Linked DNA regions of Homo sapiens: region 2 is linked to region 1. Evidence: promoter capture Hi-C in 16 types of primary human blood cells and fetal thymus (Javierre and others, 2016). All regions are on one chromosome and are shown on one strand. The core of a region is centred on a gene start or on the middle of the fragment in contact, and the rest is flanking DNA. Distances in the headings are between cores, read along the strand shown. Region 1 holds the start of GIMAP8 (GTPase, IMAP family member 8). Region 2 overlaps LOC105375567 (a long non-coding RNA gene).

The links. The method cuts DNA at HindIII sites, captures the fragments that hold promoters and counts their contacts. A CHiCAGO score of 5 or more calls a contact.
Region 2: a fragment that was not itself captured here is called in contact with the fragment with the promoter of GIMAP8 in region 1 in 1 of 17 cell types (M2 macrophages); the score reaches 6.0 in M2 macrophages.

The regions. Positions count from the first base shown.
Region 1 is chr7:150,446,771-150,453,092 of GRCh38, forward strand. GIMAP8 (GTPase, IMAP family member 8) reads left to right here and starts at 3,860. Exons shown (of 5, transcript NM_175571.4): 1 at 3,860-4,405. LINC00996 (long intergenic non-protein coding RNA 996) reads left to right here. Exons shown (of 4, transcript NR_034033.1): 3 at 1-119; 4 at 306-1,370. The HindIII fragment of the contact is 1,822 bases long and covers 2,835-4,656 here.
Region 2 is chr7:150,826,987-150,833,308 of GRCh38, forward strand. LOC105375567 (a long non-coding RNA gene) reads right to left here. Exons shown (of 5, transcript XR_928171.3): 3 at 1,671-1,922. It overlaps LOC124901775 (a long non-coding RNA gene), which reads left to right. Exons shown (of 3, transcript XR_007060591.1): 2 at 262-447; 3 at 5,985-6,115. Among named protein-coding and RNA genes, the nearest start is that of AOC1, 22 kb to the right of the region's middle. The HindIII fragment of the contact is 5,212 bases long and covers 1-5,057 here.

The sequences.
Region 1 (6,322 bases), core at 2,610-5,109:
GCAATAAAAAGAGGGCACTTTGTCTTACTTGGCAATAAACCACCACCAGCAGCAGCAGCAATAGCAGCACCCCCACCCCCACCAAACCCAAAACAAACAAGAAAAGCAAAAGGAAACCTGTAAGCAAAGCCCAGGGGAGCTGTGTTGAATGTAGGTCCAGAGTGGGGTTGAGGGCTGCAGCTGGGCACAGGGTGCCTGCGCTCCAGCAAGAGTGCAGGCTGGAAGAAAGTCATTCTTTATCATCTCATTGGCCCTTGGATGGTGTCGAGAAGATTTAGAAATATTTTTATCCTCTTTATTTTTAGTCGTTTTCAGTGAGAGGATTGGCATGAAGAATCCTTGGGACACAGGAATCAATCAAGACCTTTGGATGCCCCTGCCTGCTCTGTCTCTAGAAGCCTCAAGCCCAGCATCCCCATGCCGACGTGCTCATCTCTAGCAAAACACCAGCCTCTCAGCCCTCTCTCCATAAAGGCCACTAGAAAGTACTGTGATGCCAGGCTGCTCCACATCCAGGCAGCCTGGGTGACCACTGCCCTTTATGAGAATCAGAAAAAGCTGTCTCCCGAGTAGTTGGAATTACAGGTGCATGCCACCATGCCTGGCTAATTTTTGTATTTTTAGTAGAGATGGAGTTTCACTATGTTGGCCAGGCTGCTCTTGAACTCCTGACCTCAAATGATCCACCCGACTCGGCCTCCCAAAGAGCTGGAATTACAGGAGAAGCTAAACGTTTTAAAATAAGTATATTATTTCTGAATTACTATAACAGACATGGACTCCATTTGAACAAGATACTTAATTCCATCAAAAACTTGTCAAAATATACAAATTTAGTCACAAGACACTTTACTACCATCTACCAAAGCTGTAGTAAACACACACATTTTCCATCTTTGAAATGAAATAACGTATAATAATGTTTTCCAAAATAACAAAGATGTCTGCAGTGAATAGCACTCCCTTTGATGTGGCAACTGGGTCAATCGTGTTAACAACTGTGAATTCATCTTTTTAAGAAATTCTTTTATTGTTTCTTTTCTTTTCCGCGACAGTCTCACTCGTGTTGCCCCGGCTGGAGTGCAGTGGCGCTATCTTGGCTCACTGCAGCCTCCGCCTCCCGGGTTCAAGCAATTCTCATGCCTCAGCCTCCTGAGTAGCTGGGATTATAGGCACGTGCCACCACACCCAGCTAATTTTTTTGTATTTTTAGTAGAGACGGGGTTTGACCATGTTGGTCAGGGTGGTCTCGAATTCCTGACCTCAGTTGAGCCGCCGGCCTCGGCCTCCCAGGAAGTGCTGGGATTACAGGCATGAGCCACCAGGCCCGGCCTTATTGTTTCTATTTGTAATAAATCTGTTCCCCTTGCTGCTGTCTCTGCGTTAGTTCTCCTCATTTCTAGCTTGGGTGCTGCAGCAGCCTCTGACCGGTCCTTCTGTCTCCAGCCTGACTGCGTTTTCTCGCACCTGCTGGGCTGTCTTAGGGCCCCGATGCCGGTGGCGTTTGCCATTCTCCGTCTGCCTGAGGCGTCCTCCCTCCGTCATCTGACAGGCAAATGTTACAGCCCTTCAAGACTTAGGCATTACCTTTCCCGCGCGGCCTTCCCTTCACTGTGCCTTACAATCTTCTCCATGGCAGGACATAGTGAAACTCCGTCTCTACCACTCCGTCAGTACCTGCCACAGGAAATGGCGGGTTTACGGATTTGTTTATAAGTTTATTTCCCCAATTGGTTGTTTTTCCATCTTGCGGGGTTTACATCGTCTCCTCCTCACTTGCGTGGCAGCCTGGACGCATCTCTATCACAGCACATTACCTCGTTTCGTGACCACAGCGTAGTCTCTTCCCCATCCTCAGACTGAGTTAGGGCCCCTTTGAGTCAGGTATTTGCCTTGCTAATCTTTGTGCCCTCTGTGTCTAATACGGTGCTTGGTCCTGGTAGATTTCTCCTTGCTTGCATAACATGTGTCTTCCTGGCTTATTCGATTTCTGGAAGTCTAGAACTTCTCCCCAGTGTTTCACCTGCCTGCTGAGTCAGGGCTCTCGGCCCGCTGGGGAGCATTTTGCTGCACTTGTCATTAGCCACAAAGCCACTAGGGGGCAGGGAGCCCCCATCCTGCCTCAGATCGGTGCCAAACCAGAACCCGGCAGCCTGCCTTCTGCACGGAAATCAATTCTCTAGGAGCTGATTTGCTGAAAGATCATTTTGCAAAATGGTCAACTCAGCAAATAATCGACTTGCTGAATCTTTGAGGAGTTATTTGCAGCTTCAGTTTTACTTAGAGCAATCCCTGGATGCTTAATATTTCATTTAAGAATGAGTGAGCCTTTTCTTCTCTATTTTGGGGAAACAGTTTCTTGCTGAGCCTCTGCCTCTGTTAGTACCCCAGCGGGGATGAACTGCAGTACCTGGCTTCGGGTTTTTGTCTTTTCATTATAATGAGTTGGTTTTATGTGCGTTGACCTACTGTAAAGGAAGGGTGGGGTTCTTCCAAAATAGATCCTCTTTCAATGAGGAGACAGGTAGAGTGGGACATGGGAAGGGCTTTGTCAGCTTTCCCCATCAAGATGTGTCCTGTGTGTCCCCAAAGCTCTTCTTGAGCCATCCCAGCATAACCAGGGTTTCCCTCAGGTTCATAACAAGGTAGAGCAGTCCTCAAGGCTGGCGCATGAAGACCAGTCCAGGGGGAGGGTGGATCCCTCGGGATGTGATAGGCTGACAGCAGCTCCCCAAAGCCTGTGGTTTTGACTACTGTAGAGACTTCATATCTGAAGCATGCCCCTCTACTTCAGCCACCCCCACTGCTCCTCCTTCTGCGGGGTCCCTTTGGAAAGCTTAGCACCACCTCAGACATTTGGAAAACTAACTTGAGCTCCAGTCCCTCGAGGCCCTAGCCTCTGCATCCTGTGAAGAGGGCCCTGCTGTGCAGAGCGCAGAGGGTCCCGCACTCACTTGGATGAACCTCTAGGGCATTCTGCTCAGTCTCAGGAGGGCAGACACTGTGGGACTCCACTCACATGAGTATCTGACGTTGCCAAAAATCATAGAAACAGGCCGGGTGTGGTGGCTCACACCTGTAATCCCAGCGCTTTGGGAGGCTGAGGCAGGTGGATCACTTGAGGTCAGGAGTTCAAGACCAGCCTGGCCAACATGGTGAAACCCCGTTTCTACTAAAAATACAAATATTAGCCGTGTGTGGTGGCGGGAACCTGTAATCCCAGCTACTCGGGAGGCTGGGGCAGGAGAATTGCTTGAACTCGGGAGGTGGAGGTTGCAGTGAGCCGAGATCACACCATTGCACTCCAGCCTGGGCGACAGAGCAAGACTCTGTCTCAAAAAAAAAAAAAAAATCATAGAAACGGAAAGTAGAACGGTGGTTACCCGGGCTGGGGTTCGGGGAGGTGAGTTGGGGTGTAATGGGGAGAGTTTGGGTGCTGCAGGATGAAAAGTCCTGCAGATCTGGCACACAACCATGTGAATGTACTTTCTACTGTGGGCTATACACTTAGAAATGGTTAGGATGGTACTATTAATGTTACATCATTTTTACCCTAGTAAACATTTTTTAAGAAGTCTTCCTCCGTGTTTGACTTCCTTATGAAGTAGAGACCAGGTAGTTTGGACACTATGTTCTTTCACAAAAGGGATTTCATTTTGTGAAATATTTGAAAGCATCGAAGTCTAGCATTTCACGTTTTGCAAGCTGGGGAAAAGCATTCATTCCCTGAGAAGCAGCGTTGGTCTGTCAGGCTTGGAGTTCCCCGGGTTGTGGGTTTTAGGGAAGGGAAGGGAAGCGAGGAAGGACTTGTGAGAGGAAGTCCTAAAGGCCACTTAAGGGCACACAGAGGCCCGGAGCTGGCTTTGCTCAGAGCTTGTAGCGGCGCCACAATCTCTGTCCTCTCAGGAACAGGAACTGGCTTGACGTCCTTTTCCTGCCCTATCCAAGCCCCTGTTCTTGCAGCCCTTCTGAAGCTCAGCCTGGCACCGGCCCCGGCGCCCCAGCCCCTGGCCAAGCCTCTGCTGTCATTTCTCCTCCCTCCTCTCAGTCTGCAGCTGCGGGACGGGCCGGGCTCCTCAGTTTCTGCTGTGTTGTGACCCCACGAGGCGCTCAGCACCCAGGGAAGGCGCGTGTGTCCCCGATGCTGGCTCCTCCCTGAGCCCCGACGGCTCTCGAGGTTCTGAGCCTGTGGCCTGCACAGGGAACTTCCTCTCCGACTGCATTTATGCCTCTGTGGATGTGAAGGCTATTTCTAGAAATCTCTTCCTTTGCAGAAACACCCGAAACCCTCCTGCCAGGAAGACCAGGGCCTGGGAAGAGGGTCGCTCTCCGGCCATTCTCCCCTCACCCTCCTCACCTTCCTCACATCCTGTGCCCTGGGGGACCAGCAGCTGCTTCCACCCAGGTGAGAGATGGAGGGATAGAGCCAGGTGGATTGCGGAGCCTCGGAGACTGTGGGACGCCGTGGGACCCCATGGGACACGACCGCAGTGCATGTGTGACATGTGCACTCGTGTGTAGATGTGTGTGCACTGGTGCATGGCTGTGGGGGAGGATGGGCTTGGCACCGGGAAGGCAGCCTGCTCAGCCATGGGAGAGGAGGCTGGGTTGAATGGCAGGGTTGAATGGCAGAGTTGAATGGCAGGGGCCCTGGGAAGCTTTCCTCCTGGTCCAAAGCGTGTCTCCCCAGCCTGCTGGGGAGTAGATTCGGCAGGATGGGGACAGAGGCATATTCCCAGACATCTATGAGAGTGGCTGTCCTAAAAGAAGGCGTGTCGGGGAGTGGGTGTGAGCCCTGAAGAGGAGGAGGGCTGAGACTGGCAGAAGGGAGGAAGAAGCAGGCGGAAGCAGCCGGTCAGATGCCCCATGAAGCTAGATGGTGCCGCAGAGCAGCCCCCAGGAGGAAGCCAGCGGAGCTCCTCCCGCAAAGCAGGGGGTGGGGGATGCTGATTTTTCCACGTCTGCTTTTCTGATCTTTCCTGCCCCTTGCACAGTTAGGATTCTGTGAACTGGGCATTGGAGGGATTGGAGGGGTCAAGACCTTACCAAAAGCAATATTTCTGATTTCACCTACATTTCAGCCAACCTGGTCCTCAGCAGTTAACCTCTTCCCTTCCTCTTGATGGTTGCCCTGCTGGGCTGGGTCTAAGGTCTTCCCCACGCTGGGCTCTGGAGGCATCTCCAACCACCCTGCTCTGTAAGTGGGAACTGCGATTAGATGTGGGATGAATCCCCGCATGGCTGGATGCTGTGCTCAGATGCCTGAGTCCACGTTTGCCTTGGGCTGTTTCCTGAGAAGGAGGCAGAGGCTGCCTTTACAGTCTTCAGTGAATTATAGGAAGAACGCTCTCTTTTTCTCTCAGTTGCTCTGCTGGGGTCTCCAGAGTGGCCTGGGAAATTGAGCAGAGGGAAATGTGGGCTGGCAGAGCGTGAGTGAGGGTGAGTTTGGGTACCTTTTTGTCCTTAAGTGCACTTTCTACATGTTGGGGTGAAGTGCTACTGGCTGGGAAGCTGTATGTGTGGTAGGAGTGTGCATGTGCGTGTGTGTATGTGGGTGTGTGTGTGTAGGTCCTGACATCATGTGGAGCTGCAGGCAGGAGTCCAGCCAAGACTCATTGGTTTGGTCATACTCTGCTGGGGAACCATGCAAGGCTGTGTCGCTTAATTGGGAAAGAAATTTCTTTCTTCTTCAGACCTGTGGGAGGCCTCTGCTTCCTTCAGCTTGCTGTTTTCTCACTAGTGTCTTTTTTTCTTAAATTAATTTACAGAGACATCTCACTTCACTTGCATATATATGTGTGTGTGTATGTATATATGTATATATATGTATATATGTATGTATATATGTATATATGTGTATATATGTATATATATGTGTGTATATGTGTGTGTGTGTGTGTGTGAGATATATATATATATATATATATATATATATATATACATGCGAGTGGAACTACAGGCACCCACCACCATGCCTGGCTAATTTTTGTACTTTTAATAAAGACGGGGATTTCATCATGTTGACCAGGCTGGTCTCAAACTCCTGATCTCGAGGGATCTACCTGCCTTGGCCTCTGAAAGTGTTGGGGTTACAGGCGTGAGCCACTGCGCCCGGCCTCCCTCTCAGTTCTAAAAACCGTTTTTCTTCTTTTCTTCACATTTCTGTCTCTCCTGTGATCGTTCATTCCTTTACCTCCACGTATTGGGCATATACTACATGCCAGGCACAATGTTAGGGCCTGGGGACACAGAACAAAACAGGCATGTTTGGAGTTTCAGCACATGCTGTTATGGAGCTTTGTACCAAGGGTAGTACAGAGAA
Region 2 (6,322 bases), core at 1,202-3,701, 380 kb after region 1:
TATGAGGCCCTGACTAGTGTTTTCCCCATTTTTGAACTAGGAAACTAAGGCTCAGAGAAGTTCAGAATTTGTCCAAGGCCACACAGCTAGAAAATGTCATAACTGAGATTTGAATCCAGACTTTCTGACTCCCGGTTCACCTCAGTTACTTGTTCTATAAAAAGATTTTATATTTTTGTCCTTCATGTAGTTTACCCCCAAGAACAGGTAAGCCTTAAAGATGAGACCAGAATTAACTGCCCTTTTCCTACAAACTTTCAGCTTTCAAATCTGTACCTGTTGATGAGAGAACCTCCAGGTTTGTCCCCTACTACCAATGATGAGGCAAACACAGAGAGAGGAACCCCTTTGACTAAAGCTGAATTGTAAAGGACTAAAGCCCTAACTTCTCTTCGAATGACCTGCATTCAAATCAAGTAAGCAGCTGTTCAAAGAATTCAGTCGGAGGTATGACTTGTGCAGTGAGAGTTGAAAACGCAAATCCTGTTCTGTACCTCCCTGTTTAAAGCATTGCACTGGCTCCTCGTTGCCTTCAGGATAAAGTCTATATTCCCTCCACATCTCCTTCCCTACTCCTCCAGCATTCTGACTGGCTGAGCCAACTACTCTTACCCCAGTACAGACAACCTAACTTTGCAGAACTACTCACAATTCCTAAACACCATCGAGGATCAAGCCTCTGCCTTTTTCCCTTCAACATTTTACTATGAAAATTTTCAAAAATAAAATTTTAAAAATTTACAAGTGAATACTTCTCTATCTAGACACTAAAATTAATATTTTCCTGTATTTGCTTTATCATGTATCAATTCATTTATCCATCCCATTTTTGTGCATTTCAAAGTAAGTAGTAGATATCTGCATACTTACCCCTAAATGCTTCAGCATGCATATTATTAACTAGAGTTCCAAATTTGTTTCCAGTTCTTTTTTTCTTTCGTATGTAAAATTAACATACAATGAAATTTTTTCCCATTGTATGTAAAATTAACATACAACGAAATGCACAAATATTAGAGGCAGTGTATTAGTATCCTTGCTATGGTAACAAATCACCACATACTTAGTGTCTTTAAATGACATACATTTATTCTCTTGGAAGTCCAAAATCAGTCTGGCTGGGCCAAAGTCAAGGTGTAATCAGGGCTGGCTTCTTCTGGTATCTCTGAAGGGACAATCTGTTTCCTTGCCTTTTTCACCTTCGAAAGCATTCCTTGGCTCATGACCCCTTCCTCACATCACCAACCTCTTGCTTTCATAGTTACCTCTCCTACTCACTCTGATCCCCTGCCTTCTTCTTATAAAGACTGTGATTACATCAGTTCCACATGGATAACGCAGGATAATCTCCCATCTCAAGATTCTTAGTTTAATCGCATCTGCAGAGTCCTTTTTGCCATGTGAAACAACATATTCACAGCTTCCAGGAATCAGGATGTGACCCTCTTGGAGAGCAATTATTCAGCCTACCACATGCACATCTAATGAGTTTTTACAAATGCATACATTTGTGTGACTCAAACTCCCAGCAAGATAGCCTTACCATCACCCCCAGAACATTCTCATGCCCCTTCCCAGTCTGTCCCAGTCTCACCCTCACCCCCTAGAGCCAGCCACTGTTCTTTTTGCCTCTTCAGAACTTCCTATAGATGGCGTTATCTTGCAAATACCTGGTATGGTGTCTGGCATGTAGTAAGTGCTCAGGAAAGGACTTCATCTTTTGAATCTGACTTCTCTTACTTGACACAATGTCCTGAAGACTCATCCATGCTGCGTGTATCAGTCTCAGTCTGTTCCTTTTGATTGCAGAGTAATATTCCATCAAATAGGCCACAATCAGATAGTTCCCTTATTCATCCATTCTCCTGTTGACAGACTCCAGACTGCTTCCAGTTTTTGTGCTTTTTTGTTTTTGTACAAATCTATGGGGTACATGAGAAAACTTGTTACTTATGTGTAATGTATAGTGATCAAGCCAGGGTATTCCAGGTGTCCATCACCCAAGTACAATACATTTTGTTAAGTATGGTCACCCTCCTCTGCTATCAAACATTGAATTTATTCCTTCTATCTAACTGTATATTTATATGCTTTAACCCACTTCTCTTTGTTGATGGCTGCTGTGAAACCTCAGTTCTTGTGTTCCTAGTTTAAAGGAATTTAAACAGGAGACACACAGCAAAGGAGATGCAGTGTAGAGCAATTTATTGCAAAGGAGGAAGAATACCCTGAAAGTTAGGTGCAGAATAGACAGGATGCCCCAAGAGGGATTCAGGGTGGGCTGCCTATGAGGATGAGATAGCAAAGACCCACTTGAGGGAGACTCCCTTTATCGAAGGCTTACCTGATTATTCATGAGGGGGTGGGAAACTGTGTTGCTAGGAAGCATGTTCTGGGATGGGTGCACATGTGCAGTACCTGTACATGCTTGTTCATACATTGCATGTGTCATTAGCACCCTAAATCTCCAACCAGGGGTGTTTTTTATTATTATATTGAGCAAAGGGTCAGTCTGAGGACAGGTAAAATCAAAATGTGCATGCTCTCTACAGGGGAAATTCCCTACTGGAGACAGCTTTGCTGAATGAGCTTGACTGCAGTGCGAATGCTGGGGCTTATTGTGGTGACTATGAGGTCACCAAGGTTGCCAAATCCCAAGGGCATAGTAACTTCCTTGACTAACTGTCCTGCCTCATCTTCATCCTCCCCCTTTCCCCAGACTCACACTTCCCAGTCTCTGTTCTTTATCTTTCCACTCTCTACCTCCATCTCTGTTCTCTATCTTTCCACTCTCTACCTCCATATGATCAAATTTTTTAGCTCCCACATATAAGTGAGAATGTGTGATATTTGCCTTTTTGTGCCTGACTTATTTCACTTAAGATAATGGCCTCCAGTTCCATCCATGTTGCTGCAAATGACATGTTTCATTCATATAGGCTTGTCATATATGGTCTTTGTTATTTTAAGTATGTTCCTTTTATAGCTAGTTTGTTGAGAGTTTTTATGTAAATTGTATCAATTTTTATCAAAAATTTTTATCAGAAATTTTATCAAATACTGTTTCTGCATTTATTGAGATGATCATATGGTTTTGTCCTTCATTCTGTTGATGTGATGTATCCCATTTATTGATTTGTATATGTTGAACCATCTTTCCATCCCTGGCATAAATCTCACTTAATCATGGTGTATTATCTTTTTTTTTGTTTTTTTTTTTTTGAGACAGAGTCTTGCTCTGTCCCCCAGGCTGGAGTGCAGTGGCACGATCTTGGCTCACTGCAACTTCCACCTCCCTGGTTCAAGCAATTCCCCTGCCTCAGCCTCCAGAGTAGCTGGGATTACAGGCACCCACCACCACGCCCAGCTAATCTCACTTTTGTTTTGGCTGCTCAACCTCTACTTCTTATCTCACTTCTTGCTCACTTGCCCCTTCACCTTGCATTGTTAGATTGTTAATTTTAATGTTTCTACTTTTTGATGGAACAATTTATTGCTATAAATTTCCCTCTTAGCACTGCTTTTACTTTTCTCACAGGTTTTGGTATGTTGTGTTTCCATTTTCATTTCTTTCACGGAACTGTTTTTATTTCCATCTTAATTTCTTATTGACCCAATGGTCATTCAGGAACATGTTGTCTAATTTCCATGTATTTGTGTAGTTTCCAATGTTCCCTCCTTGTATTGATTTCTAATTTTATTCCATTGTGCTCTAAGAAGATAATTGATATGATTTTGGGAAATTTGTTGAGGCTTATTTTGAAGCCTAACATGTGGTCTATCCTGGAGAATGTACCACGTGCTGATGAGAAGAATGTATATTCTGTAGTTGTTGGATAGAATGTTCTGCAAATTGTTAGGTCCCTTTGTCTATAGTGCAGTTTAAATCTAATGTCTCTTTGTTGACTTTCTGCCTAGATGATATATGTCCAATGCTGAGAGTGGGGGTCAATCTTTGTGCTTCCCAACCTGCTGCTGAGGTTGCTCCTTTGGCCTGTAATAACCTCACCACTAGCATCTGTTCCCCTCACAAAGAATCAGTCACCCTTGTCAGCCTCATTATACCCAGTACAAAGGCCACCTGCTCTGGGAAACATTTCCCAAACCACTGCCCCACCCTGGGTGACTGGACCACTCCCTCCTCCATGCCCTGTACATACCTCGCTCTCTGCACCTGGCCCTTTTATGACCCTTACTTGTTTACTTGACCCTTACTTGAGGACATCTGACTCTACTCACTCTAGTTCATGCCCCCCAGGGCACAGCCAGGGCATTTCATATCTGTGTCTGCACAGCAAGGGCAGTATAGTGTGGTAGGGCTGTGCAGCTCTGAAAGCACTGCCAGGGTGGGTTGAGATCTTGGTTCTCATTTCTTTTTTTTTTTTTTTTCTTTTTGAGATGGATTCTCACTCTGTTGCCCAGGATGGAGTGCAGTGGCACAGTCTCGGCTCACTGCAGGCTCCACCCCCGGGTTCACGCCATTCTCCTGCCTCAGCCTCCCGAGTAGCTGGGACTACAGGCGCCCGCCACCATGCTCGGCTAGTTTTTTTGTGTTTTTAGTAGAGACAGGGTTTCACCATATTAGCCAGGATGGTCTTGATCTCCTGACCTCCTGATCTGCCTGCCTCGGCCTCCCAAAGTGCTGGGATTACAGGCGTGAGCCACCGCGCCCAGCCGGTTCTCACTTCTTCATATGTAATCTGATGACCCTCACAGGGTCATTGTGAGGAGTGAATAAAATATACACGTGAAGCACTTAGCACAGTGCCGGGCACAGAATCTGCATCTGATTCAACTGGGGCATAAATGGATGAAGGAACTTGTTAAATAATGACACAATGGCCGCCTTGGATTCTTTGCATTCTCGTTGGAGTGAGAAATCTCCTTTTTCTGAAAACTGACCTGAATGTGGAGGACAGACAAGTAGTGACTCTTGGCTCTGCAATCCATGAGAAGAGCTGCTGGCTTATATCCATAACTTATTTTGAGTTTTATTCAAGGACACAGAAGTCCACTTCTTCTTGGAGGAAGGACAGAATTTAGTCCAATGTCTGAGAAGCTTTAATAGGCTGCCAGGGAAAAGAATTATGAGCTGCCTCTTTCTCTGGGACATATGTGCCATTGTTTTCCTCTCAGCACAAAGACTTTGCTGTGCCCTGGGGTAGGGGCTTTGCTTCACTGTGAAACTGGCTCCAACATAGACCTTGAGATTGCTAAATGTTCTCATTCTGAGCTAATCTGGAGCCTAAAGAGGTTAACAATCCAGCAACAACGAAGAAGAATATTTTGATGGAATTTCTCCTTGTCTTTGCCATATATTATATGCCTTTTTTCAGAGTACACTATTCATCAAGAACTTGAGCTTCTCGAACACTATATTTTGGTTATAGACTTTTTTATTGCTTTTTTATGATTATAAAAATAAATACATGCCCATTGGAGAAAGCTGGGAAAAATGGAAAAGTATAACAAAAAGACAAAAATTACCCATAATTTCACACCCCAGAGATAACCACTGTTAATATTTTTGTGTGATCTTTTCACTAGTGATAGATAGATAAACAAATAAGTAGACTGACATACAAATGCATTAGGCACATTTTTCCCACAAGTGGAAAAACACCAATAATTAGATTTCTTGGTCCAACAAGCCTAGTTGTTTGTTTGTTTGTTTTGTTTTGTTTTTGAAATGGAGTCTCGCTCTGTCACCCAGGCCGGAGTGCAGTGGCTCAATCTTGGCTCACTGCCACATCATCCTCCCGGGTTCAAGTAATTCTCCTGCCTCAGCCTCCTGAGTAGCTGGATTACAGGCACGCACCACCACGCCCGGCTAATTTTTGTATTTTTAGTAGAGACAGGGTTTCATCATGTTAGCAGTCTGGTCTGGAACTCCTGACCTCGTGATCCGCCTGCCTCAGTCTCCCAAAGTGCTAGGATTACAGGCATGAGCCACCACGCCCAGCCACAGGACTAGTTTTTTACAGGCTTCAATGTGACCAAGGTGGACTGAAGGAAAAGCTATATTGAAGAAAACTCCTGAACCTGCCAACTGGGAAGGTCCCAAGAGTCCAGACTGGGTGGTCATGTAGACCCTCATCCTTCACCTGCTCATCCTGCCTAGTTAAGTGTTTGCTTAGCTCAACTCTCAGAGGCAGCAAAGGCAGCAAATGAGATGGTGAATTACAACCCAAAGCCCAGGCACTGGACTGGGCAGTGTGGTAGGGAGGTGCAGAGATTCAAGTGAAGACCTACCTGCTCCCCCTTCCCCTTCCTCCTAGATCCCTGTCAGGTCCTTTCACCTGAGCCTTGATTCCATGTGACT